Linked DNA regions of Homo sapiens: regions 1, 2, 3, 5, 6 and 7 are each linked to region 4. The links are contacts of gene promoters, found by promoter capture Hi-C in human tissues and cell types (Jung and others, 2019). All regions are on one chromosome and are shown on one strand. The core of a region is centred on a gene start or on the middle of the fragment in contact, and the rest is flanking DNA. Distances in the headings are between cores, read along the strand shown. Region 1 has its middle 24 kb from the start of HSP90AA1. Region 2 overlaps CDC42BPB (CDC42 binding protein kinase beta). Region 3 overlaps TRAF3 (TNF receptor associated factor 3). Region 4 holds the start of ANKRD9 (ankyrin repeat domain 9). Region 5 overlaps TRAF3 (TNF receptor associated factor 3). Region 6 overlaps CDC42BPB (CDC42 binding protein kinase beta). Region 7 overlaps HSP90AA1 (heat shock protein 90 alpha family class A member 1).

Evidence for each region. Contacts are between HindIII fragments. The study calls those that stand out against the background at their distance.
Region 1: a contact is called between a fragment that was not itself captured here and the fragment with the promoter of ANKRD9 in region 4, in 1 of the 25 tissues and cell types used here (spleen).
Region 2: a contact is called between a fragment that was not itself captured here and the fragment with the promoter of ANKRD9 in region 4, in 2 of the 25 tissues and cell types used here (dorsolateral prefrontal cortex and mesenchymal stem cells).
Region 3: a fragment that was not itself captured here is called in contact with the fragment with the promoter of ANKRD9 in region 4 in 1 of the 25 tissues and cell types used here (mesenchymal stem cells).
Region 5: a contact is called between a fragment that was not itself captured here and the fragment with the promoter of ANKRD9 in region 4, in 3 of the 25 tissues and cell types used here (H1 embryonic stem cells, dorsolateral prefrontal cortex and hippocampus).
Region 6: a fragment that was not itself captured here is called in contact with the fragment with the promoter of ANKRD9 in region 4 in 2 of the 25 tissues and cell types used here (adrenal gland and dorsolateral prefrontal cortex).
Region 7: a contact is called between a fragment that was not itself captured here and the fragment with the promoter of ANKRD9 in region 4, in 1 of the 25 tissues and cell types used here (dorsolateral prefrontal cortex).

Annotation. Positions count from the first base shown.
Region 1 is chr14:102,108,965-102,113,330 of GRCh38, forward strand. It overlaps a transcript of HSP90AA1 not described here. Among named protein-coding and RNA genes, the nearest start is that of HSP90AA1, 24 kb to the left of the region's middle. The HindIII fragment of the contact is 6,059 bases long and covers 1-4,366 here.
Region 2 is chr14:102,966,792-102,970,597 of GRCh38, forward strand. CDC42BPB (CDC42 binding protein kinase beta) reads right to left here. Exons shown (of 37, transcript NM_006035.4): 14 at 3,360-3,470; 15 at 1,681-1,925; 16 at 1,462-1,567; 17 at 255-379. Among named protein-coding and RNA genes, the nearest start is that of AMN, 46 kb to the left of the region's middle. The HindIII fragment of the contact is 7,838 bases long and covers 1-3,806 here.
Region 3 is chr14:102,849,646-102,853,436 of GRCh38, forward strand. All of the region lies in intron 2 of TRAF3 (TNF receptor associated factor 3), which reads left to right. Among named protein-coding and RNA genes, the nearest start is that of AMN, 71 kb to the right of the region's middle. The HindIII fragment of the contact is 5,301 bases long and covers 1-3,791 here.
Region 4 is chr14:102,507,757-102,511,646 of GRCh38, forward strand. It overlaps ANKRD9 (ankyrin repeat domain 9), which reads right to left and starts at 2,020. Exons shown (of 4, transcript NM_152326.4): 1 at 1,773-2,020; 2 at 885-1,090; 3 at 719-793; 4 at 1-186. The coding sequence starts at 133. LOC105370679 (a long non-coding RNA gene) reads left to right here and starts at 2,287. Exons shown (of 4, transcript XR_007064352.1): 1 at 2,287-3,795. RefSeq lists silencers at 808-969, 1,964-2,403, 2,564-2,613 and enhancers at 2,094-2,737, 2,738-3,383, 3,384-3,890. The HindIII fragment of the contact is 3,197 bases long and covers 811-3,890 here.
Region 5 is chr14:102,808,380-102,812,231 of GRCh38, forward strand. The region is part of intron 1 of TRAF3 (TNF receptor associated factor 3); the gene reads left to right. Among named protein-coding and RNA genes, the nearest start is that of TRAF3, 33 kb to the left of the region's middle. RefSeq lists silencers at 1,305-1,464, 3,274-3,383. The HindIII fragment of the contact is 3,490 bases long and covers 292-3,781 here.
Region 6 is chr14:102,944,563-102,948,412 of GRCh38, forward strand. It overlaps CDC42BPB (CDC42 binding protein kinase beta), which reads right to left. Exons shown (of 37, transcript NM_006035.4): 27 at 3,159-3,240; 28 at 1,906-2,122; 29 at 1,100-1,162. Among named protein-coding and RNA genes, the nearest start is that of AMN, 24 kb to the left of the region's middle. RefSeq lists an enhancer at 583-1,782. The HindIII fragment of the contact is 4,076 bases long and covers 1-3,434 here.
Region 7 is chr14:102,079,209-102,083,235 of GRCh38, forward strand. It overlaps HSP90AA1 (heat shock protein 90 alpha family class A member 1), which reads right to left. Exons shown (of 11, transcript NM_005348.4): 9 at 3,826-4,027; 10 at 2,903-3,236; 11 at 1,534-2,613. The coding sequence ends at 2,504. Among named protein-coding and RNA genes, the nearest start is that of HSP90AA1, 5.8 kb to the right of the region's middle. The HindIII fragment of the contact is 4,613 bases long and covers 1-4,027 here.

The sequences.
Region 1 (4,366 bases), core at 1,681-4,180, 400 kb before region 4:
TTTTTATTGGACAGCTGAATTTTTTAACTTTTTAAATTAAGGTATAATTTACATAAAGTGCTAAATCCTAAGTGTAATACTTGATACACTTTTACAGCCAACACCCAGCTCAAGATGCAGACTTTCCAGCACCCCAGAGGCTCCCTATGTTTCTTCCCTATCAATATCTCCCTCAAAGATAACCAACATTCTGACACCATTGATTAGTTTTGTCCATTTCTGAACTTCATACAGATGGAATTACACAATACGTACTCTCATGTCTGGCTATGTCCACTCAGCATTAGGTCTGTGGGATTCATCCATGTTGTATGTAACAGTAGTTCCAAGTTGAATATCCCTGATACGGTTTGGCTGTGTCCTCACCCAAATCTCATCTTGAATTGTAACTCCCACAATTCCTACATGTTGTGGGAGGGAGCTGGTGGGAGGTAACCGAATCATGGAGGTGGGTCTTTCCTGTGCTATTCTCATGATAGTGAATAAGGCTCACAAGATCTGATGGTTTTAAAAATGGGAGTTTCCCTGCACAAGCTCTCTCTTTGCCTGCTGCCATACATGTAAGACATGACTTGCTACTCCTTGCCTTCTGCCATGATTGTGAGGCTTCCCCAGCCATGTGGAACTGTAAGACCATTAAACCTATTTTTCTTCCCAGTCTTGGGTATGTCCTTACCAGCAGCATGAAAATGGACTAATACAGTAAATTGTTACCAGCAGAGTGGGGCACTGCTGAAAAGATAACCCAAAACTCTGGAAGCAACTTTGGAACTGGGTAATGATGAAAGGTTAGAACAGTTTGGAGGGCTCAGAAGAAGACAGGAAAATGTAGGAAAGTTTGGAACTTCCTAGAGACTTGTTGGATGGCTTTGACCAAAATGCCGATGATGATATGGACAATGAAATCCAGGCCGAAATGGTCTCAGATGGAGATGAGGAACTTGTTGGGAACTGGAGCAAAGGTGACTCGTTATTTTATTTTTTTTTGAGATGGAGTCCTGCTCTATCATTCAGGCTGGAGTGCAGTGGTGCAATATCAGTTCATTGCAAATTCCGCCTCCTGGGTTCAAGCGATTCTTCTGCCTCAGCCTCCTGAGTAGCTGGGACTACAGGTGCCTGCCACCACGCCTGGCTAATTTTTTGTATTTTTAGTAGAGACAGGGTTTCACCATATTGGCCAGGCTGGTCTCGAACTCCTGACCTTGTGATCCACCTGCCTTGGCCTCCCAAAGTGCTGGGATTACAGGTGTGAGCCACCGCACCCGGCTGACTCATGTTACGTTTTAGCAAAGAGACTGGTGGCATTCTGCTCCTGCCCTGCCCTAAAGATTTGTGGAAATTTGAACTTGAGAGAGATGATTTAGGGTACCTGGTGGAAGAAATTTCTAAGCCACAAAGCATTCAAGAGGTGGCTTGGGTGCTGTTAAAGGCATTCAGTTTTGTTTGTTTGTTTGTTTGTTTGTTTGTTTGTTTTTGAGAGAGTTTCACTCTGTTGCCCAGGCTGGAGTGCAATGGTGTAATCTCGACTCACTGCAACCTCTGCCTCCCGGGTTCAAGCAATTCTCCTGCCTCAGCCTCCCAAGCAGCTGGGATTACAGGCGCCCACCACCATGCCCGGATAATTTTTTTTTTTTTGAGACAGTCTTGCTCTGTGGCCCAGGCTGGGGTGCAGTGGCACGATCTTGGCTCACTGCAAGCTCCGCCTCCCGGGTTCACGCCATTCTCCTGCCTCAGCCTCCCGAGCAGCTCGGACTACAGGTGCCCCCCACCACGCCCGGCTAATTTTTTTCTATTTTTTAGTAGAGATGGGGTTTCACCGTGTTAGCCAGGATGGTCTCGATCTCCTGACCTCGTGATTCACCCGCTTCTGCCTCCCAAAGTGCTAGGATTACAGGCGTGAGCCACTGCGCCCAGCCCAATTTTTTGTATTTTCAGTAGAAATGGGGTTTTGCCACGTTGGCCAGGCTGGTCTCAAACTCCTTACCTCAGGTGATCCACCTGCCTCTGCCTCCCAAAGTGCTGGGATTACAGGCATGAGCCACTGCACCCAGCCAAAGTATTCTGTTTTATAAGGGAAGCAGAGCATAAAAGTTTGGAAAATTTGCAGCCTGGAAATGCACTAGAAAAGAAAATCCCATTTTCTGAGGAGAAATTCAAGCTGGCTGCAGAAATTTGCTTAAGTAACGAGGAGCTGAATGTTAATTTCCCAAGACAATGGGAAAAATGTCTCCTGGGCATATCAGAAGTCTTCACGGCAGCCCCTCCCATCACAGGCTTGGAGGCCTAGAAGGAAAAAATGGTTTTATGGGCCGGGCCCAGGGCCCCCTTGCTCTGTGCAGCCTAGAGACTTGGTGCCCTGAGTCCCAGCCACTCCAGCCATGGCTAAAAGGGGCCAAGGAACAGCTCATTGCTTCACAGGGTGCAAGCCCCAAGCCTTGGCAGTTTCCACATGGTACTGAGCCTGCAGGTGCATGGAAGTCAAGAATTGAGGTTTGGGAACCTCTGCCTAGATTTCCCTTTTCATGTTCCCTAGATACAATGGGGGTACAGGCATTGGGTAAATACACCCCTTCCAAATGGGAGAAACTGGCCCAAAACAAAGCATATCCTTTCACAGCTTCTTGAGAAGGGGCACAAAGAGGGTAAATTGAAACCCTGCATGTCCCACAATATCTTTATTCTAAACTCATACTTGAGTGATATATTGGTTTAGTTATAAGCTGGAATAAATACTTCCTCAGAATTTTGAAGCCATTTCTCAATTGTTCTCTTACATTCAATAAATTTTTACTGAGACTCTAGTACATGCCTGGCACTGCCTCTAGGCACTTGGGATCCATCAATGAACAACAGAGGCAAAGATACATCAAGATAGCATAAAAGAGCTTTTTTTCCTACTTGTGTTATGGTTTTCAGTGGTGGTGTTTACAAGTCAAGCTATTCTGATTACTGATCCCTTTTATATGACATTTCTTCTCTCTGGAAGCTTGTAGGATCTTTTCTATTCCAAGTGTTCTAAAATTTCAAAGTGATGTACCTTGGTATAGATCTATTTTTATCCATTCTGCTGGACACTTGGTGGGCTCATCCCCTCTGTAAACTCATGTTCTTCAGTTCTGGAAATTTTACTTGAAGATTTTGTGGATAATTTCCTCCTACAGTGTTTGGAGTTTGGACCTCTTAGATTCTCTAGGTGGTCTTCTATTATATGCTCTCTCTCTCTTTTTGAGACGGAGTCTCACTCTGTTCCCAGACTGGGGTGCACTGGCACGATCTTGGCTCACTGCAGCCTGTGCCTCCTGGGTTCAAGCAATTCTCCTGCCTCAGCCTCCTGAGCAGCTGGGATTACAGGTGCCCGCCACCACACCCAGCTAATTTTTGTTGTATTTTTAGTAGAGATGGGGTTTCACCATGTTGACCAGGATGGTCTTGATCTCTTGACCTTATGATCTGCCTGTCTCAGCCTCCCAAAGTGCTGGGGTTACGGGCGTGAGCCACCGTGCCTGGCTCTCCCTTTTTTTTTGTTTTAAAAGAGACAGGGTCTTGCTCTGTTGCCTAGCCTGGAGTGCAGTGGTGTGATCATAGTTCACTGTAATCTTGAACTCCTGGGCTCAAGAGATCCTCCCACCTCAGCTTCCTGAGTAGCTGGGACTGGAGGCACACACCACCATGTGCAGCTAAGTTTTAAATTTTTTTGTAGAGATGGAGGTCTCACTATGTTGCCCAAGCTGGTCTTGAGCTCTTGGCCTCAAGGCATCCTCCTGGCTTTACCTCTCAAAGTGCTGGGATTACAGGCGTGAGCCACTGTGCCCAGTTGATTTCAACTTTCTCTTCCAACCCTTCTAGCATTTTAATTTCTGCTGTTAAGTTTTTAATATTCAAGAGGTTTTTTATTTTCCTAAGTTTTTTACAAGAATGCAGACCGTTCTTATTTCATAGATGCAATATCTATTTAAACTACTAATATTAGCACTTGTTGTAAATTCGCATCTCCCTGTACAGCCTGTTTTCTTCAATATTATTTTTTCTGTTCATTTGTGTCATTTGTTTTGTTTGTATTTATTTATTTATTTTTTTGAGATGGAGTCTCACTCTGTTGCCCAGGCTGGAGTGCAGTAGTGCGATCTTGGTTCACTGCGACCTCTGCCTCCCGGGTTCAAGCGATTCTCCTGCCTCAATCTCCCAAGTAGCTGGGACTACAGGTGCCTGCCACCACACCTGGCTAATTCTTGTATTTTTAGTAGAGACACGGTTTCACCATGTTGGCCAGGCTGGTCTCGAACTCCTGACCTCAGGCAATCTGCCCGCCTTGGCCTCCCAAAGTACTGGGATTACAGGTGTGAGCCACCGCGCCCGGCTTGCTTGC
Region 2 (3,806 bases), core at 687-3,186, 460 kb after region 4:
CTCTGAGAACGCAAGGGGTGTGAACGGTTTGCCCCAAGTCCTTCAGTGGGTTGGTGGGGGCGTATCTCCACCTCTATTCCAACAGAACCACTGCCCCAGACATGAGAAGTTCTGGGGAACAGCAGTGAGACCTGCACCCCAGCCTGAGAGGCACGGCCTGGCGTGGAGCACAGGATCAGGCAGAAGAGGCGGGGCAGACCCCATGGACTGAGCAGGGAGCGGATTCACGGCCGCTAATGGGGCCGCGCACGTACCACTGAATGATTTCCGCAATCTGAGCTTCCCAGTGGGCCACTGACTCCTTCTTGGCTGCCAGATCCTGCAGCTCATCCTCCAGCTGTCTATTTTGAGCTGTGAGTTTATCCACAAAGGAACAGAGCTGAAATGAAACAATTTCACCACAGAACTTGTTAATCGGGCATCCTTTAAGTATGCTGGATTTAACACTGGAAGTTCTTTTGAAGACTCTGAAAGTTTTCTTTAATCGTCATGAGATTTTTCCAAACTAAGTTCATGATATGGATTTTTTTCACTGTATCTAGCTTAAGTCACATTTCAATTCAAATCTAAACCTAAACTGATGGAGCTGGAGCTAGTGACTTCAGGCAATTGGCATCTTTTCGCTGAATACAAACATCCTATTTAAAAGACCAAACACATGACTCCATTCAAAAATTAAAACAGTCACGTGTAGTGAAACAGCAAGAACACGGTCTGAGAAACGTGTCCTTGCACACACAGCGTGAATGCACTCACGCAAGCCTAGACGGTGCGGCTGCCGCACACCAGGCCCTGTGGTACAGCCTGTCAATTCCAGGCCCCAAGCCTGCATACCATGTTGCTGTGCGGGACGCTGCCGGCGGCTGTAGCACAATGCTAAGTATCTGTGTATCTCAACACAGAAGAGGTAGAGTAAAGTACAGTATTATGATCGTACGGGACGCCTGTTGTACACACAGTCTATCATTGATGGAAGCATCGTTATATGGCACATTACTGCACTGTAAAAAGACACCAAACTTCGGCCGGCGCAGTGGCTCATGCCTGTAATCCCAGCACTTTGGGAGGCTGAGGTGGGTGGATCATGAGGTCAGGAGATTGAGACCATCCTGGCTAACACGGTGAAAACCCGTCTCTACTAAAAATACAAAAACTTAGCCAGGCGTGGTGGCAGACGCCTGTAGTCCCAGCCACTTGGGAGGCTGAGGTGGGAGAATGGCATGAACCTGGGAGGCAGAGGTTGCAGTGAGCCAAGATCGCGTCACTGCACTCCAGCCTGAGCGACAGAGCGAGACTCCATCTCAAAAAAAAAAAACCAAACTTCCAAGACTCAAGAATGACGACATTCTACTCCCCCATAAATATATATACCTACTATGTACCCACACAAATTAAAAATAATTTTTTTTTAAATTACAACTTCCACACAAAGTGCTAACTCAGGTACTTTGAATTAATTACCTTTTCATTTTCAGCAGTTAGCTTCTTGTTTTCATCAAACAGCATCGCTCTTTCTCGTTCGTATTTATCTTTTATTGTACCTACTGCCTCCTCCATCTCGTTATGCCTGCCAAGGTGAGCGAGAAACAGTTTTAAAAGCTCGTAACTTCACTGATATTCGTATCTATGGCGTGGGTATCAGCTTGCATCTTCTGAACTGAGAAGCTCATGAAAACCTACCGTTCTCGCTTTGACTTTTCTAACTTATCTTTTAACATCAAGATTTCTTTCTGCAGGGCCAGCTGGTGGCTTTCTGAATCATGCACCTCCTTCTTCACATTTTTCACTTCTAGCACATGGGAGGCCTCACGTCTGACCAATTCCTCTTCATAAAATAAGACTTTCTTCTCCAGCTCGGATTTGATTTTGGAAATCTCTTGCTGGTGCTCTAAGGTGGCACCCGCTCCCCGGCCTCCTTGCTTCACCTGAAGACAAAGGTTAACATAAATTGACAAACCTCTGTGTCCTCAAGGGTCACACTGTCCTTTCAACCCCTTTCATCCCAAGCAAGTGCAGACACCTTCCCAAGGACTGTGTGTGCCTGGTCTACACCAGATGACGTAGCTGACCTGGCTAACGTGATCCAGGTTCTAGGGGGTCACAGCAGGAGACGGCCTTGCAGGGGGATGTGCCCAGGTCTGCCTGGGACCCCCGAAGCTCTGCCCCACACCCTGTTCATTCATGCTTGCAGCATTCTTCTGAGGGCTGACTCTGTGCTGGGCCCCCTCCTTGTGACTGGGGTGACACTGAGGTCTCTGCTCTCTTGGGGCTGGCGGGAACTGACAGCAAACCAGTAAAGGGGCAGAGGGGCCGTGCACCCCAGCCAGGTTGTAGGGAGTGGAGGGCGTGCCAGGATGGCTGGGGCGGCTTCTGTAAGGTGCTGGCCTATTAAGTGAGGTGTCAGGCTAGGGGCAAAGAACAAGGGCACAGGCTGGAGTGAGGTGGGACGTGTTGGCAGTGTTTGCAGCATGCAGAGAGGCCAGTGTGTCTGGTGTGGCGGGGCAAGGAGGGGCAGGAGAGGCACTGCTGGGCTGGAGCAGGCAGGAGGGTAGCTGCTGGACAGCTGCGGAGCCACGGAGGCCCTGCCGCACAGGAATGTGATCCGGCTTTGGTCTGCCAAGCTCACTCTGCCTGCTGTGCAGAGAGGAGACTCAAGGGCTGAGAAAGGGGCAGGAGCCTCGGGCACCACATGCCGAGGTCCAGCCAAGCCCGCTGCCAGGGAGGAACAGCATCTCAGGCCCACGTCCCAGAGGAAGAGTTGCCAGATCACTGAGGCGAAGGGAGAGGGCAGACCCATCGCACGCGGCTCACACATGAGGAGATCCAGGCCACGCCATACTGCCAAGGAGATCCGCCTCCGGCCCCTTGCCCACTTGGCCACTGTGGCCTTCCCCACTCCCGCCCTCCGCGGCCTCCCTGCTACCCTCCAGCCCCACCAGTGGGCCCCGACTGATGGCCAGCCTGTCTCTTCCCCAGTCAGCAGCAGGCTACGGGCTTTAAGGAGCTTTTCCAAAACTCAACTGCACCGAATTTAGAATACCACGATGTGAAGAAGGCTATGAATTGATGGGGCTGGAGTAGGAAATGAGCCAATTAGATATTCGTTTCCTAGGACTTACTGTGAATTGCCTGAAACTTTTATATAACAAAGGAAAAACATGAACTTGGCCTTTAAAAATGAAAGCAGTCACGAAGGCAGGGGTCACACCCCCCACCTCTCCACATGTGGGTCTTGTCTGAACAGCCTCGGGTGACACTCGGCCCGGACCACACATTACACAAGGTGACTTCCATGTGGTGGCGTCAGCAAAGATAAGCATCCCTCTCAGTTAAGGGCAGAGACCCCCGCCCAGCACTACCTTGAGGGCCTCCAGCTCGCTTTCCATTTGCTTGCAGAAGTTCTCGCTGTGCTCACGAAGCTTGCGCTCCTTGGAGGCCTCAGCAACAGCATCATCAAGCTGAGCTTCCAGCTACAAAAGGAAGATCCAGTTTCTATTAACAAAAAGCGAGCCCTGCTTCACCAGTTACAGCAGCACCCACGGGACCTCCACAAGAACAAGACCTCGAAGGAGCTCTGCGCGTGTTCACCCTTCATCAAATCTTATCACAAATTAAAGTTTGAGAAATACACTTCTGGGTTCAACTGGGATGGTTGGTTACTAATAAAACAAGGTTCAATTCTAGCTTAAATTGACACTTAAATTTCAAGAAAGGATACATTTCTTGAAATTTAAATTTCACTGATTCGTGAAAACCAGTACTTTTGATATCTGTAGAACTTGAATTCATTTATTAAATGGGCCATT
Region 3 (3,791 bases), core at 110-2,609, 340 kb after region 4:
ATGTGTGACTGTGTTCTGCCTGCCTGTCTGGTAAGAATCCAGCCTCCTGTTACTTGCCCAGGATGCTGACTGTGGGCCCTCTCCCGCAGTGGAACATTTGGCATCAGGTACCAGGAACAGAGTCAGTATGCTGAAATGTTTGCATGAATGTGGATTTTCAGAAAGCTTTCTTATCAGCAGGGCACACCTGTCTGTTCGTGATCTTTGCCCTTCTCCCTTTATTGGCATCACTTGGACGATACCTTTAATTGCCCTGCTGGGCTTGATGTTGAGCTGCTTTTCTCCATGTGTGTCGTGTTTTGTGCTTTCTTGCGGCAGGAGCCTTTTGCTTTGTTTATCTGATGCTTCCCTTTTTTGGTTTTCCCCGGGCTTTCCAGCTCTTGGAGCACCCTTTTGTCAGCAGATGTACTTTTGTTTCCAGTTTTTAAATTCTAATTACAGTGTAACTCAACTAAAATCATGGAACTGGGGAACATAAAACAAATCATTAGGGTAATGGAGGCATAGAAGAAAGTGAAAGGAATCCAGTCCACCTCTTTGCTGTACTAGGTATGGATATGCCTCAGCTGTGAGTGAGGGCCTTCCTGAGTAGCTGACTACAAACTAAACTTTTATGAAAGAATTTTCTTAAATAATTAGAGATGCCTTTCATTTAGCTAAAAACAAGACCTCAAAATACAGTAAATTCATGTCTAAGACTGTAGCAAACAGTAAGTAAAGTAATAGAGTAAAAATTCTGCTTAAAGAAGACTGCAGAATAAGAATTGCAGGCCGAGCGTGCTGGCTCACACCTGTAATCCCAGCACTTTGGGAGGCCGAGATGGGTGAATCACTTGAGGTCAGGAGTTCAATACCAGCCTGGCCAACATGGTGAAACCCTGTCTCTACTAAAAATACAAATAGTTGGGCATGGTGGCACACACCTGTAATCCCAGCTACTCAGGAGGCTGAGGCAGGAGAATCGTTTGAACCTGGGAGGCGTAGGATTGAACCAAGATTGCGCCACTGCACTCCAGCCTGGGCGATAGAGTGAGACTCCGTCTAAAAAAAAAAAAAAAAAAAAAAAAGTTACAGCGCTCAGAGTGCCAGATGCTGCGCTCCTGGTAGTTTCTGGTCTTGGCCCTTCCTTAGCTCAAAGTGCACTGGCATAGGTGCCATTTTTTAGTCACACAATTCCCTTCATTGTAATTTTCTTAGCACTGTCTTTGCTTAGTGGATCTGTTGTTGCCATTCAGCAGTACATTTCTCTCTGTGTGGAAGCAAACATCTTCTCAAACCTGATGCTCAGTGAGGATAGGCAGTGGGCTATTAAATAGGCAGTGGCCTCAGATTCCCAGCATGTGTATGATTGCCGTGCTAACCAGAGGCGCATGTGTCCAGCATCTGGGCATTGGAACCTGCAAGCTGCTCCCCCAAATCAGGATGCCAAACATTAATTGGCAAGTTACTAAAAGTTGCCTCAAATACCATCTTTAATGCATTTAACTGAATTTGCATAATTTTTCTTTATCAGCACAATAATTATTATAAATATTGTAGAATTGCCATTAACTTATAATTGTCATATCTAAATTTTAGGATAAAAATAGAACTTAACTATTTTTATACCCATATATAAGCAAGTGAAGTAAAGGTATTTATGTTTAAATCAAGAAATCTAATCAAAGGTTTTTACAATCCTTCCAAATATGCAATCTCACTTATTTCTTGCCACTTCTGGTGATAGGTCTGTGTGTGGAAGACACGGGATTCCTGCCTGTCCACAGCTCAGTGTGAACGGACCAGATATGGTCACAGATTAGAATTTACCATCACAGGGCCGGGCGCAGTGGCTCAGGCCTGTAATCCCAGCACTTTGGGAGGCCGAGGTGGGCGGATCACGAGGTCAGGAGATTGAGACCATCCTGGCCAAGATGGTGAAAGCCCGTCTCTACTAAAAATACAGAAAATTAGCCAGGCCTGGTGGCGGGCACCTGTAGTCCCAGCTACTCAGGAGGCTGAGGCAGGAGAATGGTGTGAACCCTGGAGGCGGAGCTTGCAGTGAGCCGAGATGGCGCCACTGCACTCCAGCCTGGGCGACAGAGCAAGACTCTGCCTCAAAAAAAAAGAAATTATCATCACAGGCCTCGTGGGTGGTTCGTGTAAGAGGCTGAGGCAGGAGGATTGCTTGAGCCCAGGAGTTCGAGACCAGTCTGGGCCACATTGGCGAGACCTACCTGGGCAACATGGCGAGACCCTGTCTCTACAAAAAATAGAAAAGTTAGCGGGGTGTGGTGGTGCATGCCTGTAGTCCCAGCTGGTTGGGAGGCTGAGGCAGGAGGATCGCTTCAGCCTGGGAGTTCAAGGCTGCCGTGAGCCATGTTTGCACCACTGCACTCCAGCCTGGGTGACGGCAAGAAAAGAAAGAAAATAAAAGAAATAACCTCAAAAGAAAAAAAAGAAAAGAAATTACCTCAAAAGAAAATAAATTACCCTTACAGACATTTTATTTTTATTTTATTTTTTTTACAGACAAGGTCTCTCTCTTGCTCAGGCTAGACTCAACCTCCTGGGCTCAAGTGATCCTCCTGCCTCAGCCTTCTGAGCAGGCACTACAGGCACACGCTGCCATGCCCGACAACCACCACAGATAATTTAGAAAAAATTAGCCTTTTAGTTTTAGGAGCTTTCTTTTACAGTGATATTTAGTTTGGGGCCTTTGAACTTGGTCTTTGCTTTTGGAGCTGTACTTGTAGGTGTTGTTGTTCCAGCCTGGGAACGAGACATGACCGACTCCAGTGCGGCCTGCTTGCTGTCCTCACCATCAGTCAGTGTGGTCCGTGTGTGAGGCTGCAGTTGTCCTCTTGGCCACTTATTTCTCCTTAATTCTCTGCATGTAATTTAAAACATTATCCCCTGAAACTTAGTTTTTCATTGACTTCTAATATCTTTACTTCTCCTTTTAATTTTCCTATTGAGATACTTAGGATGACATGAAATTCTTTGGATCTACATATGGACAAACAGAATTGTGTCACATAAGGTTCAGTGTGCTAGCTGTTTAAAAAAAATTAAAAACAGTTTGTTTTTTTTAGAGACAGAATCTTGCCCTGTCACCCAGGCTGGAGTGCAGTGGCGTGATCGTAGTTCACTGTAACCTTGAGCTCCTGGGCTTAAGCAGTTCTCCCGCCTCAGCCTCTTGAGTAGCTAGGACTCACAGGCATGTGTCACCATGCCAGGCTAATTTTTATTTTATTTTTATATTTTATTTTTATTATTATTTTTTTGAGACAGAGTCTCACTCTGTCGCCCAGGCTGGAGTGCAGCGGCACAATCTCGGCTTACTGCAACCTCCACCTCCTGGGTTCAAACGATTCTCATATTCTCCTGCCTCAGCCTCCTGAGTAGCTGGGACTGCAGGCTCACACCACCACGTCCGGCTAATTTTTGTATTTTTAGTAGAGACAGGGTTTTGCCATGTTGGCCAGGCTGGTCTTGAACTCCTGACCTCAGACGATCCTCCTGCCTTGCCTCCTAAAGTGCTGGGATTACAGGTGTGAGCCATTGCACCTGGCCTTTATTTTTTTTTAGAGGCTGACTGAGTTTTGCTGTGTTGCCAAGGCTGATCTCAAACTCCTGGTACTTCAAGCAGTCCTCTTGCCTTGACCTCCCAAAGTGCTGGGATTACAGGTGTGAGCTACCACGTCCTGCCTGCTAGCCATTTTTTTATGTTCGTGGTGGTGGTAAGGAGTGGCTACCAGGCTGTGCGGGATTCAGGAATCTGGATGTTCCCCCCACCACCGTTTTTTACC
Region 4 (3,890 bases), core at 770-3,269:
GCAGGTCGCGCACCGCCTGGTAGAAGGCGAACGACGACTTGCGGCACTGCTTCTGCGCTCGCGAGCGCGCCGCGCCCGAGGCCTCGGGCCCGCCGTCCGCGCCACCCCCAGGCCGCCGCGCGTCCCACGGCATGCTGGCGGCGGGGCGTTCCTGGGCCTCAAGGCATGGATCCCGCGAAGGCACACCTGCGGGGAAAGGAAGAGGCCACGGTGAGGCGCGGGGAAACTGGGGAGGCCCGGGGACTCCCCTCTGCCCCTCACACAGCCCCTCCGGTCCTGGCCCACCAGGCCTGTACCTACCTCCAGCCTCGGCCAGGCCCTTCCAGTCACCCTACAGCTCCATCTCTCCGACGCCCAGAACCACCGCCTCCATCCTTGATCTAGCTGTACCTGTTCTCCCTCCTTGAAACTGACTTGCTCTCTGGCACCTCTGCTGGAAATGCCCTTGCTGCCCATGCCCTCAAATCTCCCCTCCCCTCTCCAACCCAGGGACCCACTGGAAGAGCTTCTGTTCCCACCTAAGCCAGGTTCATACGACCCCAAATAAAGAAAAGGCCAGGGAGGGGATGAGAAAGCTTGGGCCCACATCTCAAGCTGAGGCAAATCCACTCTCCAGCCCAAGCGCAACCCTGACCCTGATCTCCGACCCCAGACCACTTGGAGGCCCCTGGAGCCTCTTCCTGGGCTGTTCAGAGGCATGATCCAGACTCAGACCTACCTGGTTCCTGCACCGCGATCACCTAGTTCCGGGGATGTGGGTATATCACAGTCCCTGGCCGAGCCTCAGCTTTATCTGTAAGAAAGGGGAGGGGTGGACGACGGCTGTGCGGGCGGGGTGAGCCTGGGGCGTGGCACCAGCCCTCTATCCAAACATGTTTGCTTACACGTTAGCTCCTGGGAGGAGATAGGAGGGTGAAAACAACCTGGAGACCGGTGTGCACCGCACTGCACAGTCTGCCATCCTCTTCAGGTCCCATACCTCTCTTGATCTCCCCGACTACTAGATGAAGCGGGTACTGCCATCCCACTTTCCAGCAGGGCACAAGCTTCTCCAATTCTCCAAGGTCAGCAAGCCACGGCAGAGCCAGGCCTAGAACTCAGGTCCCCTGCGTCTCAGTTTGGGCTCATTCCAGAATTGGTGGGGACCCCCAACCCACAGGCAATCGAGCTTAGGCCCTGACCCTGCCCTCTGAGTCCCCAGCCCCGACCTGAGCCTAGGCGTCTGACCTCTGGCTCCGTCCCAACCTCCCTACTGCCTTCTTTCAAGGGTAAGCCCTTGGTCACAAGGGGCCTGGGACAGAAGGCAGGCCGCGTCCACACACACTGACTGGGTCACTATCACTGGCAGTAACTGAGTTAAAGAGAGCGGCGCGGTGCGGGTAGGCTGTGGCCCGTGGGCAACACCGTGACTGGAGCCCCTTCCCCAAGCCTGGGCCTCCGGGCCCCAGATATGCCCTGTGCCGGCACGCGTGGGGCGCCGGGCGGGTTACGTAAAGTTCGGCCTCCCCACGTCACCGGGCAGAGTCACGGCCGCGGCTCGTGAATAAGGGGGTTGGGCCATCGAAGGCAGCGCCGCGCCCGGGGCCACCCGCCACCTCCTACCCGTCCCCTCCCGGCCTGCACGGCCAGACGTCGGGCGGCGGAGGGTCGCGGGGCCGAGCGGGGCGTCCGCGCGCAGGTGGCCGGCGCAGCGAGGGCTGCACCTGCGTGCGCGTGTGCCGGAGGAGGAGGGGGCGGCGGCCGCGGGCGCGGCGCGGGGGACGGGGACTCACCATGGGGGGCGCGGGGGCCACAGGCCGGGCGTCCCCGCCCCTGCCGCGGACCGGAGCGCGCGCTGTCCCCCGCGGGCGAGCGGGCAAAGGTCCCACGACGGACGCACGGGAGGGAGCCACCGCCGCCCGCGCCCGCCGCAGCCGCGCTCTGAGCCGCCGCGGCCGGATCGCAGGGCGGCGGTGCCGTCGCCGGCGGCGGGCGGCGGGCGGCGGGCGGCGGGCGGCGCAGTGCGGCCCCGGCCAGGCAGGACAGCGGGACCGTCCGCCGCCGCCATTGGCCCGCGCCGCCGGCCCCCGCCACCACCCATTGGCCGCCGCGCTGCACCATTGTTACGTCACTGGCCGGCGGGCGGGGCGCACCGCTGGACCCGCGGAAAACTTCGGAGAAACTTGAGGGAGCGCCGGCGGGGAGAACGGAGAGGAGGGGCGGGGCCGTGGCGAAAGGGGCGGGGCGTTGATGGGCGGGGGCGGGGCTCCCGGAACCCGAGCTGCGGGCGAAGAAAGGCTCCGAGCTCCGAGCTGCCCTAGCCCGGGAGGGCGCCGCTGCTCTGCGAACTCGGGCGCGCGCGTAGGTGGCCCGCCCTCCGCCGTGCGTGACTTTCCTCGTCGCGTCCAGCTCCCCTTTTCTTTGACCTTACGTGACCTTGGGAAAAACCTCCAGGCTGCTACCCCATCTGCACATGGGAGGGCCGGGGGTAGGAGCCGCGACCCCTAAGGGCTCCACCGCCTTCTGCCCGGCCAGGGTCGTGCCTGGCGCGCCCCCGCTCCAGCTGACCCGCGCAAGGGAGGGAGGGGCGGACGGATGGGGACAGCTGTTTAGGAGCGCGCACTGCGCCCATCTCGGCCTCAACACTCATGTTTCCACTTCGTTTCACGACCACCAGCCACAGTGGACACGATGATCCCCAGTTCACCCGCCAGCAAATCAGGGCTCAGAGAGGTGGCCTCAAAGAGAGGAGCGGCCAGGAGGGAAGCCGGGGGTTTGCCCTGCGGTTCTTCCCACATCTGGGCGGGATAGATTCGATTGGGCCTCGGCCACCCCCACCGTCTCCGTCGGGGGTTCCAAGGTTTGGGGTCATGACCTAGGGGGCTTAGGAGCCTGGGTCCATCTCAACTAATTTATGGCCTCACTCGCCCCCAGCGGCTGGGAATTCTAGGCCCATTTTACAGATGTGGACGCAGATCTGGAGAGGGGCAATGACTGCTCAACCCCCCACCCATCCTCCCAGACACGACCTTCCACCTGGAATCCCCCCACACACGTTCTCAGAGGCCAGGCAGCCGGGGTCTCATGGTGAAATCCCCACATTCCATGCAGGGGCTCTTTCTGGTTCCTTCCCTAGAATGCTGTCCCTGCCCTTCCAGTACTATCTCACCAGGGAGACCCTCCCACTCCCCCACTCCGCTCCAACCAAGCAAGGCCTCTGCCTCGCCCCGGTGGGAGGGGCCTCGTCCAGAGGGCACGCCCCTGCACACACAATCAGCCCTGTCCTGGCTTCTCTGTGTGCCCCAGCCAGTCAGTCTGGGTGGAAGTCTTACCTGGGCCCTCTCAACAGACCTAGGCAGGCCTCTGTCCCCAGCCCAACGAGCTCAATCCCTTAAGCACACACGCCACAGAGCAGTCCTGAGAGGCCAGGTGGACAGTACCATGAGGCAGACAAAGCTGTGAGGCCCAGAGAGGGTCAGGCCACCCCAGCCCAGGTAGGCACTCACATGTATCCTGCCCAGGCTGCCATGCATGGACCCACCAGGGGGATGACCAGACCCCACCAGCCCTGCCCCACCTCAGGGCGGGGGACGTTCCAGGCCACGCCATCTCTCCCAGGGAGTCCATGGCAACTGCCAAGCTTACAGCAGCCAGGTTGTCAGCAGGAGTAGGGGTATAGAGGGCACTGGGCCTGGCATCCGCACCCGCCTTTGCCTCAGCTCCACATGTCTCCTCCTGTATCTAGGCCTATCTCCCTAGGGCTTCTCCCATCTGCCGGTTCTGGATGCCTCTGAGTACGATGGTGGGGAGAGCAAAGTGAGTGAAGGTCCTGGAGTCAACAATCGGCCTTTGGGAGCCCAAACCCTGGGGGACATCTTGGGGAGATGGTGCCCATGTGGGCTGTCTGTGGC
Region 5 (3,852 bases), core at 787-3,286, 300 kb after region 4:
GCACATGCCTGTAATCTTAGCTACTCAGGAGGCTGAGGCAGGAGAATTGCTTGAACCCAGGAGGCAGAGGTTGAAGTGAGCCGAGATTGTGCCACTGCACTCCAGCCTGGGCAACAGAGCGAGACTCCATCTCAAAAAAAAAAAAAAAGAAAAGAAGAACCATACTAGTCAGGTGCTAGAGGGCTTCCAAGGCAGCCTCCAAGGGAAGGAAATGTCTGAGAAGTTATTTAAGAGGATTTGTTGGAACAGAAAAACTTCCAAATTGGTCTAGAAGGTGGACCCTAGCTATAGACGCATTTTACAGGACATAATGTAAATATTAAAGGCACATTTTCAGTATTTGGGGAAAATATGTCCTCTGAGTCGAATGACCAATGGCTGTTTCTAGAAAAATTTTAGTTGTAGTTTTAATTTGATTGTCTTGAGCATGGTGATAGATTGACTTTTTTTTTTTTTAAGACAGTCTTACGCTGTTGCCCAGGCTGCAGTGCAGTGGCACGATCTCAGCTCACTGCAGCCTCCACCTCTTGGGTTCAAGTGATTCTCCTGCCTCAGCCTCCCGAGCAGCTGGGATTACAGGTGCGCGCCATCACACCCAGCTAATATTTATTTATTTATTTATTTTGAGATGGCGTCTCGCTCTGTCACCCAGGCTGGAGTGCAGTGGCGCGATCCCTGCTTACTGCAGCTTCTGCCTCCCAGGTTCGAGAGATTCTCCTGCCTCAGCCTCCCAAGTAGCTGGGACTACAGGTGCGTGCCACTACACGCGGCTAATTTTTTGTATTTTTAGTAAAGACTGGGTTTCACTGTGTTAGCCAGGATGGTCTTAATCTCCTGACCTCGTGATCTGCCTGCCTTGGCCTCTCAAAGTGCTGGGATTACAGGCATGAGCCACTGTGCCTGGCCGCACCCGGCTAATTTTTGTATTTTTAGTAGAGACGGGGTTTCACCAGTTGGCCAGGCTGGTCTGAAACTCCTCACCTCAGGTGATCTGCCTGCTTCAGCCTCCCAAAGTGCTGAGATTACAGGCGTGAGCCACCGCGCCTGGCCTAGAGTGACTTTCTTAAAGCTCTGTGTCTCCTGGAAATGGAATGTATCCCAAATGAGGATTATTTTTAAGCTTTATAATAAAATCTTTCACAGCATAGACTTTTTTTTTTTTTTTTTTTTTGAGACGGAGTCTTGCTCTGTTGCCCAGGCTGGAGTTCAGGGGCGCAATCTCGGCTCACTGCAAGCGCCGCCTCCCAGGTTCATGCTATTCTCCTGTCTGTCTCCTGAGTAGCTGGGACCACAGGCGCTCGCCACCACACCCGGCTAATTTTTTGTATTTTTAGTAGAGATGGGGTTTCACCATGTTAGCCAGGATGGTCTCAATCTCCTGACCTCGTGATCTGCCCGCCTCGGCCTCCTAAAGTGCTGGGATTACAGGCATGAGCCACCGCGCTTGGCCCACAGCATAGACTTTTAAAGACCATGTAGGCAAGAACAGATCTTTAAAGGGAAACCTCAGTTTGGCTTTTGAAAGTTCATCTGATTGAAGTTAAACTGATGAAACATACTCCATCCATGCATTACCAAAAACGTTGGAGCACGGCATGGCAGTAGTATCTAAAACAGATTGGCAAACTATGGGTCTAAGAATAGTTTTTATGTGTTTAAAGGATTGTAAAAATAAGCAAAGAAGAATATGTGACCCATGAAACATAAAATAGTTACTGTCTGGCTCTTTATGGGAAAAAAGTTTGCCAACTCTTGGCTTAAAGGGTCAAGAATGCTTTACCAAAAAACAAACAACCCCCTCCCCCCTACAACTGTAATGTTTGAGCAGGAGTTTTACAAGATAAAGAATTTTGATCTTGAGGGGATTTGGGTGAGGATGGGGCGGTGCAGTGGGAGAGAGAGTATAGATACTGTTCATCACACCCAGTGCAGTCGGCTCTGGTGGGAACATAGGGTGACCTCAGTGTGTGGTGAGGACAGTGATCATGGCCCCTTTTACAAGTTGAAGCTTAGTTCTGGAGTGGTGGACCATCAGAAGCTTTTAAGTAGGAGAATGTCAATGTCATAAATTAGAGTTAATTGTGAGAAATTGAAATAAGTATTCCATTTTTTTCTGAGATGTGCTCTCCTGAACTTATAAAGTAGTTCTTCAGAAGTGTTTGCAGTGTTCACAAGACACTGGCTCTGTGGTATTTGACATGCAGATGGGCCCAGAATTCCTGACTTAAGGCTAAAGATTTATCTTGAGCTTATCATGATGTGGGCTTATGATTGTTTTGATCAGCAGCTGACATCTGTGAAGCCTCAGTGATCCTATAAATTGAGGAACCTGAGAGAATCAAGAGAAAGACAACAATTCTTGCTGATGTCAGTAACTGTATTTCACCTGTTAAACTTCTGCATGGAGGAGGTCAGTGTTGTCTGCTGTGTCAGCATCAGCCTACCTGGGTGTGGACGTATTCTTTGGGAGATGAAACGTAGAAAAGGTACCCCGAGTCCATTACACATTCTGGATTCCCAGAAATAAGACATCTCTGAGGGCAGAACCTTTACAGTCACTTACATCAAGAAGGAATTCTTCAGGAGAAAGCTCGGTAAAGGTATCTTAACTTTGTATGTATACCCAGAGAAAACACATAAAGATAAAAATAAAATAATTTTCCTCATTATCCCCACACCATTAGCATCTTGGTGTATAGTCTTTGCATCTTTTTTCAGTATGTATGCACTTAGATCATCTTGTAGGACGCCAGTCCCATGCATTATACACTTTGTATCTCACAGTGGAGTGGAGGACAGCCTGATCCTTAAGGGGATGCCGAATTGCTGCATCCCCATGATTTTTGCTGCTTTGATTCTTCTCATGAGCCCCGTTGCTGCTGTCTGTATTAGCGTCCTTCTGAGCAAACAATGGGTACCTTTTTTTTTTTTTTTCTTAAGAGAGAGTCTTGCTATGTTGCCTCAGGCGGGAGTGCAGTGGCTATTCACAGGTGCTGTCGTACTGCCCTGGATGATAGTACACTGCAGCCATGAAGTCCTGGGCTTAAGCAGTTTTCGCCTCAGCCTCCTGAGTAGCTGGGACATTAGGCCCGTGCCGCCATGCCTGGCTCTTGACCATTCCCACAAGCCACACCTACAAGGAGCTCAAGGAGCTGTTTGCGCTGTAGGCGGTTTTTTTTTTTTTTTTTTTTTTTTGGTTTTTGTTTGTTTTTGTGCAGAGGTCAGATCTCTTGTCTCATAGTGCAAAGGCGATGAAGGCCTTCATTACAGTCTCTCAATTTGACTCTCAGTTTGATCGGAAGTTGCTAAGATGGGCTGACATTGTGAGGAGGATACTGCTACAGCAGTAGTGTGTGTGTGTGTGTGTGTGTGTGTGTGTGTGTTTGTACAGACTGTCTCACTCTGCCACCCAGGCTGGAGTGCAGTGGTGCAGTCATAACTTACTGTAACCTTGAACTCGTGGGCTCAAGTGATCCTCCTGCCTCAGCCTCCCGAGTAGCTAGGACTGTAGGCTTGTGCCACCATGCCTGGCCCTTTTTTTTTTTTTTTTTTTTTTTTTTTTTTGTACAGACAGGGTCTTGCTGTGTTGCTAAGGCTGGTCTCAAACTCCTGGCCTCAAGTGGTCTTCCTGCTTCAGCCTCCCAAAACACTGGTATTACAGGAGTGAGCCAGAGCACCTGGCCTGAAGCTATATATTATTGTTAACTGCAGTCATCCGACAGTGCTATAGAACACTAGACTCTGTTCCTGTCTAGCTCTCTCCCCATTTTTCCCATCCTCCTACCCTTCCTAACCTCTAGTATCCTGTGTTTACTTTTGACTTCTGTGAGATCAACTTTTTTTAGCTTCCAC
Region 6 (3,850 bases), core at 147-2,646, 440 kb after region 4:
GACTTGCCTGGAACACTCTGGGGCCCTCCCCTGGGCTCCCTTCCTGTGTGCACAGCCTGAGCCCGGCCCTGAGCCCGTCTCTGCCCACAGAGCCAGTGGCTTGAACGCCCCCCGGAGAAGCTGCCCCACATCCACAGCGCGCTCCTGGGGCAGCCTCGGGGGCTGGTCCAAAGGCTCCTCTGCCTCTGCTGCTGTGCACACCCCTCAGTGCACCAGGGCTCCAGCTGGGCAGCGCTTCCACCTGGGTCCTCGCGCAGCAAGGCCCTGGGGTGATCTGGGCCTCCTTCCAGCTCATCCCCGAACCAGAGGGCCCTCACGCTGCACATGAGGGACAAAGAGCTGTCCCCAACCCACTGGGACCCTGAGACAAATCCTCTGAAGACGCTGCCCTCACAGGGCCCCCAGTGAAGACACTGCCCTCACACTCACACGGCCCCCAGTGAAGACGCCGCCCTCACACGGCCCCCAGGCTAACCCAAGCCCCTCGCTTGCTCAGATCTCCCCACAGAGCTGCCAGGGTACGGCCTCGCCCAGCGGCTGCCCCGCCCTTCTCGCTCCACGGCCATCACATGCAGAGATGCTGGGTCTGTCGGGAAAGGACTATGGCTCACATGAAATGTCGCTGGATTCCTTGAGGGATGCTCCCCTGGGCCCCTGCCCCCTGCCCATGGCCAGTTCCAGTCTCCTGACGTTTCTGCTCCTAGACCCAGGGCTGTGGAGCGGGTGCATGCCAGGATACCTTTGCCCTTCCTCGCTGGGAAGACTGAAGTGTCAAAATTGGAAGCAAAGAAACTAAAGCTTCTCAAGTGAAGCCTCAGCACATGTGGGAAAGCTGCAGCTGTTCCTCCTCCCAGGGGGCTTTCCTTGACCCCCCACCCACTCCCGCTCAGTGCTCCCCTTGAAGAACTCGATGGATGTGATACGCAACTTAGCACCGCGTCGCCATGCACTCGATGCCGGTCTTCACGGCACGCTGGCCCCTCCGGCGCCTTCATCAAGCGCATTTGTCTTAACCCTTAGGAGCTACTGACCCTGTGCTGTCTGCAGAGGCCAGGCTGGGCCTGTGACATCCCAGGCTGGAAACGCCCTGCTCACTCACCATCTCGGGTGACCTCTATGACATAGAGCCCTTCTTCTAGGCCGACTGCAATCCTGTCTGCATCTGTGGAGGGGTAAGTAACATACACAAAGTCAGTACAGCCGACCGTGAACAATATGGGTTTGAATGCGTGGGTGGGCTCATTCACAGATACTTTTCAACCATATGTGGATGAGAATACAGCATTCCAGGGATGTGACACTTCAGTATCGGGGGTGACTTTCTCTCTACACGAACTCCACAGGGCCGGCTGACTGTGGGATTGAGTCTGCAAGGATTTGGGTGTGTGTGGGGCTCCTGGAGCTGACCCTCAGGCTTAGCCGGGGCCAACTGTACTGTCCGCACAGGTCATCTGCTTTTTTTTTGAGACGGAGTCTCGGTCTGTCGCCCAGGCTGGAGTGCAGTGGTGTGATCTCGGCTCACTGTAAGCTCTGCCTCCTGGGTTCATGCTGTTCTCCCGCCTCAGTCTCCCAAGTAGCTGGGACTACAGGTGCCCGCCACCACGCCCAGCTATATTTTATTTTTATTTTTATTTTTTTTTTTAGCAGAGACAGGGTTTCACCGTGTTAGCCAGGATGGTCTCAACCTCCTGACCTTGTGATCCGCCCGCCTTGGCCTCCCAGAGTGCTGGGATTACAGGCGTGAGCCACCGCACCCGGCCTCGTCTGCTTCTTAACATGCATGGAGAAACTGTCTACAAACCCAAATGGACCTGTGACCTTCATCTGATTTTCAGATGGGCACTGCAGCGCCGCCGGAAGTGCTGTTGCTTCAGACACCTGAAGGACACAACCTTTGGGACGTACCCACGATGGCAGCTGTCAGGATGGCCTTGATGAGAGGCAGCGAGCTGTCGTAGGCTTCCAAGGGAACATGCACGACCTGATTCCTCAGCCGGTTTTTATGAAGGATGGACTGGAGTCCTTCTAGAATCCCAACCCACTTCCTCTTTTCATTCTCATTTTCTGTCAGAATGAGCAGCGAGCTGGTCTTAGAAGGTGCACCTAAGAGAGAGGCCGTCACCTTCATGACAGGAAACAGAAGAGAAGAGAGAAGTCATCAAACGCCAAAGCCGCACGCAGCTACCACGGCCCTGCTGGAGCCACGCACCCCAGGAGCAACGGGGGCTGATGTGCTTCCCAGGCAGGGACCCCTGACTCCACCTCGCTGGGCGCCTTGCAGAGGCTCCCGCGGCAGGACACGGAAGGGGCGGGGTTCTAAACAGCCCCGTGAGATCGCTTCCTGGTCCCATTTTCGTTAATTCTGCTTTTGTCAAAACTACGAGTAGCTGCCTACTTTAAATCTGCTTTCTTGAATAATCATTATAAAAGTAGATTCTGAAAATGTGTCCAGGAAAAGCAGATCTCAAAAACACTGGCCCAAATCATGCCTCCCTGTGAGCAGCCTCTGAGCACGCATGCTACCAAATGACCATCGTTCCAGTAACAATGATGGTAATTTCCTGTACTGTGTATGACAGGGTTGTTTCTGAATAGAGCTGTGATTTAGTAAAAGCTAATTTATAGACTTAGTTTTGTTATCAAAATTTTGCTGTTTATAAGAAAATTCCCAGTGGAGGGGGCTGGAGGGTTTCTTTCCCCAATTCAGTCTTCTAGGAACGTCCTAATGCTACAATGTCTAACACTAACTCAGTGAGGGAGCACTCACTCAGTCAACAAAAACGCTGGCTCCAATTGGCTGGGGGGCACTGGAGAGGCACCTTCATGCCTAACCTGCCACAGCGCCCGCCTGGCAGTGCACACGCTGTGAGGACAGTGGCCGGGACGTGGACTGAGTGGAAGAGGAGTTTCAGATGTAGGAGAAGGGAGGGTCAGTGAAGAGGGGTGTCTGGGAAGAAGCCAGCCAGGAGGCTCCCCGAGACGGGCACAGGCTGCTACTTGGCCAGGACGGGACGCACAAGGACCTGGAGCCAGGCTGGAGGTTGAGACCCTAGGGCCACACTGGAGGTGCGCTGATGGCTGCCGCAGCACAATGACATGCCTAGAACAATCAGTTTTAACCATGTGCTTTGTTAAAAAGATTAATGAAAAATTCATACCCTGAATATACATGGAATATCTCGGCGTGTAGCATGAATGACATCTGAGGCCAGGACTGAGCTCACGGAAAACTCGTCATCTCTGGTAAGGAAGAAACATTGACCCCGCTGGGAGACACGCGCACAGGACCCAAGGCCCTCCCACGCCCTGCCCTGCCCTGCCCTGCCATGTCCTTCCACCACCGTGTTCTGCAGTGGAGGGCGGGTCCCTCGCCTCCCCAGATGTAAGAAACACGGGCAGGGCCAACAAACTCAAGACTCTGGCAGGTGTTTCAGGGCTTAGGGATGCCGCAAGGGAAACCCCGGAGCCTCATCCCCACTGTGCTGGTGCCTCCAGACTATGCCAGTTACAGAAGACTCGGTTTGCACTTGGCACAGCCAGGCAGTCCCTCCAACAGCCAAGTGCAGAGGACAAGTGGGGTGAGGGGTGTGGAAGTGAGGGGGGAGTGGGAGGGAGTGGGGGGTGGTGGGGGGTGGGCGTGGAGGTGACAGGGGAGTGGGGGGTGGGTGTGGAGGTGGAGGGGAGTCGGGGGTGGGGTGGGGGTGGAGGTGAGGGGGAAGTAGGGGGGTGGGTGTGGAGGTGAGACGGGGAGTAGGGGGGTGGGGTGGGTTTGGAGGTGAGGGGGGTGGGGGGTAGGTGTGGAGGTGAGGGGGGAGGGTGGGGTGGGTGGAGAGGTGACGGGGAGGGTGGG
Region 7 (4,027 bases), core at 555-3,054, 430 kb before region 4:
CAGCTCACTGCAACCTACGCCTCCCGGGTTCAAGTGATTCTCCTGCCTCAACCTTCCGAATAGCAGAGATTACAGGTCCCTGCCGCCACGCCCAGCTAATTTTTGTATTTTTAGTTGAGATGGGGTTTTGCTATGTTGGCCAGGCTGGTCTGGAACTCCTGACCCTCAGGTGATCCACCCACCTTGGCCTCCCAAAGTGCCGGGATTACAAGCATGAGCCACACCTGGCCTTAATTTTTTCAGAGGGACAGGGTCTCACTTTGTTGCCTAGACAGTCTTGAACTCCTGGGCTCAAGCAATTCTACCTTTGCCTCCCAAAGTGTTGGGATTACAGGCGTGACTCACCATGCCTGGCTCAACTATCCTATGCTAAAATCATTTCTAGCATAATTTTGGTAGATTCCTTATGAGTTTCCTACCTAGACGACCATGTCATCTATAATTCTCTTGTCCAGTTTGCATGTCTTTTCAGCACTCACCACCCTCCCTGGCAGGATGGAACTTGATTATGGAAGGTTTGAAACAACAGTGAATTTTGAAGCAATAGGGTAAGAATTGTGGTCCTGGAGCAGTGCAAGGGCATTTTCAGCATGACATTCATGTGTCATCTAGCTCATCTTCTCACTCACTGGGCTGGGGATCCATCTTCTTGGTGGTACAGTCTCCAGCATGGGGGTTGCTGGGAGATGGGTACTTACCTGTGCATCTGGACCTATTTGCCATAAATGCTTTCCCAGTAACTCCAGGAGGATGAGTTCATTTGGGAGATCATTTATAGAGGTTCTATATTGACTTGATTCCCTCAAGTGCCTTATGTTTTTAATTGAAAGAAATCTTAAGATTTAATATTCTCTTGCTAGACCTGGGAAAAAACAAAATTGACTTTTTACCCTTTTTGCCATTCACTTCCTAGTTTAACACCGTAAACCTTTCTTCTAACACCTTTCAGTACGCAACAAAACTTAGCAGAATAAAATGGGGCTTTGGAGTTAAATTTAAATTCAGCCACTACTAAGACCTCAATTTACGTAATTCCTCCTGTATATTATCGAAGGGGATTAAGAACTTTTCAGAGAATTTAAAGGACTAAACGTGATTGCCATTTACCAAGCATTCAATACCTGCTTAGCACGAGACTGAGACAAGGTCTCTCCCTGCCTGTGCACTGCCCCCTTAGACACTGTCACATATCCAAGTCCCAGGCATTTCCTATCATTTTTATATATGGCGTTAGGCTCAGAATGCAAATCCTATATGCTATCTAACCAAGTTTTGTCTCTAGAACCACCAAATTTCAGAAGTGAAGACTTTTATTTAGCCATTACCACCCCCAGTCCCCAGAGGGACTCTTACCTATTGGGCTGATTTTTTCATCTTTTTTTTGAGATGGAGTTTCGCTCTTGCTGCTCAGGCTGCAGCGCAATGGTGCAATCCCAGCCCACCGCAACCTCCGCCTCCCAGGTTCAAGCGATTCTCCTGCCTCAGCCAGGATGGCTTTAAGTAGATTTGTAAAGAACTTTGAGACACTGTAAGGCCAAGGAATTAAGTGACTGTATTTAACACAGAAGGTATTCCATGAATAACATCAAAACAACGTGGACACTAAGAGAACACATGTAACTCATGGACGCAGGGGATGCATGTTGTCTGCATTCCTGTTTTCTGTGCCTACGTGTGCTCCACCCCACACCTGCTGAGTACATGCTGGGAAGACCATGTCAACCCTTGGAGCAGCTAGTGTTTAACCATCTCCTGCTAGCGCCTCATGTTTTACATTTTGGCACTAACTGTCATCCAGATACTCCCCTTTCCCCCTAAATAAGACACTGTCACACAATATCTTTTAACTCATCTGTATTTGTTACAACTTTAAGCAGAATGTGACTCGAGCACTACATTTCCATCCACAAGACTGGGTCTGAGTTATTTTTGAACAGCTTTACGATATGCTTAGGTAGGCTTTTAACTTTGCTCCTCCAAACAATACTTTTCTTTGGAAAACAAGCCCTGTGGAGAGATCCTTCCATCAAGTTGCTTCAGTTTAACCTATTTCTAGAGGACTAGTACATGCAGAATTGTCAACTACAGGGAATGAAAAGTTCAAAAAGTAGATCCTACAAGATGTAACGAATACTTTTCTAAACATCAAGATACAGCTCAGAACACTTCAATAACAAGATTTGGTCTACTTAGGCATCCGGCTTGACAGCTAAACACTTTAGACCACAAAGTTAACATCATGTTACATACGTCTTACAGTGCACGTTACCCCAATCTGTGAAAATAAACCAACATGAAACTCAAAAAGCATTACTAGCTCTGCTTTAGTGCCTAAGGTATCACAGCATCACTTAGTAGACAGAAATCTTATCTTCCCCTTAAAGTAGTTGTCATGCCATACAGACTTTTTAATATTAACAAAAATAAAGAAAAACATCCTTGAAAATATATTATCAGAGGAATTGTAGAGTACTGAACAGGTAAGTCATCCCTCAGCCAGAGATTAGTCTACTTCTTCCATGCGTGATGTGTCGTCATCTCCTTCAAGGGGTGGCATTTCTTCAGTTACAGCAGCACTGGTATCATCAGCAGTAGGGTCATCTTCATCAATACCTGTTTCCAAAATAAAATCCTCATATTACAAAGATTTCTTAAAGCCAGCTATTAGGGTAATACTCTTGGTTTCTATCTGCTTTCAAGACAGTATTACAGGACATATGAGTCTCAATTTCATTTCTTTGCTCTTGTAAGACCTTACTTATCCCTAAAAAAAACATACTTTAATACCTCCAAGCAGCAAGCAGGACAAGGTGCTCCAAGTTTGGATAACTGAAAGTTCACCATTTTCTTCAATGTCACGTGTGTTTATTTTCTTTTTAACATTACATAGTATAAGGCTTACCCAGACCAAGTTTGATCATCCTGTAGATCCTGTTAGCATGTGTCTGGGGATCTTCCAGACTGAAGCCAGAAGACAGGAGCGCAGTTTCATAAAGCAAGATGACCAGATCCTTCACAGACTTGTCGTTCTTATCAGCCTCTGCCTTTTGCCTTAAGGTCTCAATAATGGAATGGTCAGGGTTTATCTCCAGGTGTTTCTTTGCTGCCATGTAACCCATTGTTGAGTTGTCTCTTAGGGCTTGAGCTTTCATGATTCTCTCCATGTTTGCTGTCCAGCCATATGTGCTTGTGACAATACAGCATGGAGATGTCACCAATCGGTTTGACACAACCACCTGTAATCAAAAAGTGATGACTAGGAACCTAGAAAGATTAATTCCTAAACTTTCATTGTGAAATGAAATCTGTAGAACCCAAATTTCAATAGATCCAAAATACTATCTACTGTCAAATACAACTTAAATGTCGCATTAGGTATCCAAAGAGCACAGGTTATAATTTCATGTTTTACATGCACAATTTTTTTTTTGAGATAGAGTCTCGCTCCATCACCCAGGCTGGAGTGCAGTGGTGCGATCTTGGCTCACTGCAACCTCCGCCTCCTGGGTTCAGGCGATTCTCCTGCCTCAGCCTCCCAAGTGGCTAGGATTACAGGCCGTGCCACCACGCCTGGTTTATTTTTTTCTATTTTTAGTAGAGACTGAGTTTCACCGTGTTAGCCAGGATGGTCTCGATCTCCTGACCTTGTGATCCGCTGCCTCAGCCTCCCAAAGTGCTGGGATTGCAGGCGTGAGCCACCGCGCCCAGCCACACACAACATAGTTTTCTGTTTTAAGTTGAAAACATGCGAAAATGGGCTATGTATGACTAAGCTTGAAAGCACCTTAGAAGTATCAATGATCAGGAAATGCTGTATTCACATACCTTTTCAACTTTTTTCTCCAATATGTCTTTCATGATTTTGCAGAGGTTCTCAAACTTTGTTTTTTTCTCTTCCTGCTTCTTTTTCTCTTCTTCATCCTCTGGAAGTTCCAGGCCTTCTTTGGTGACTGACACTAAAGTCTTCCCCTCAAATTCCTTCAGCTGTTGGACACAGTACTCATCAATGGGCTCAATCATATAGATC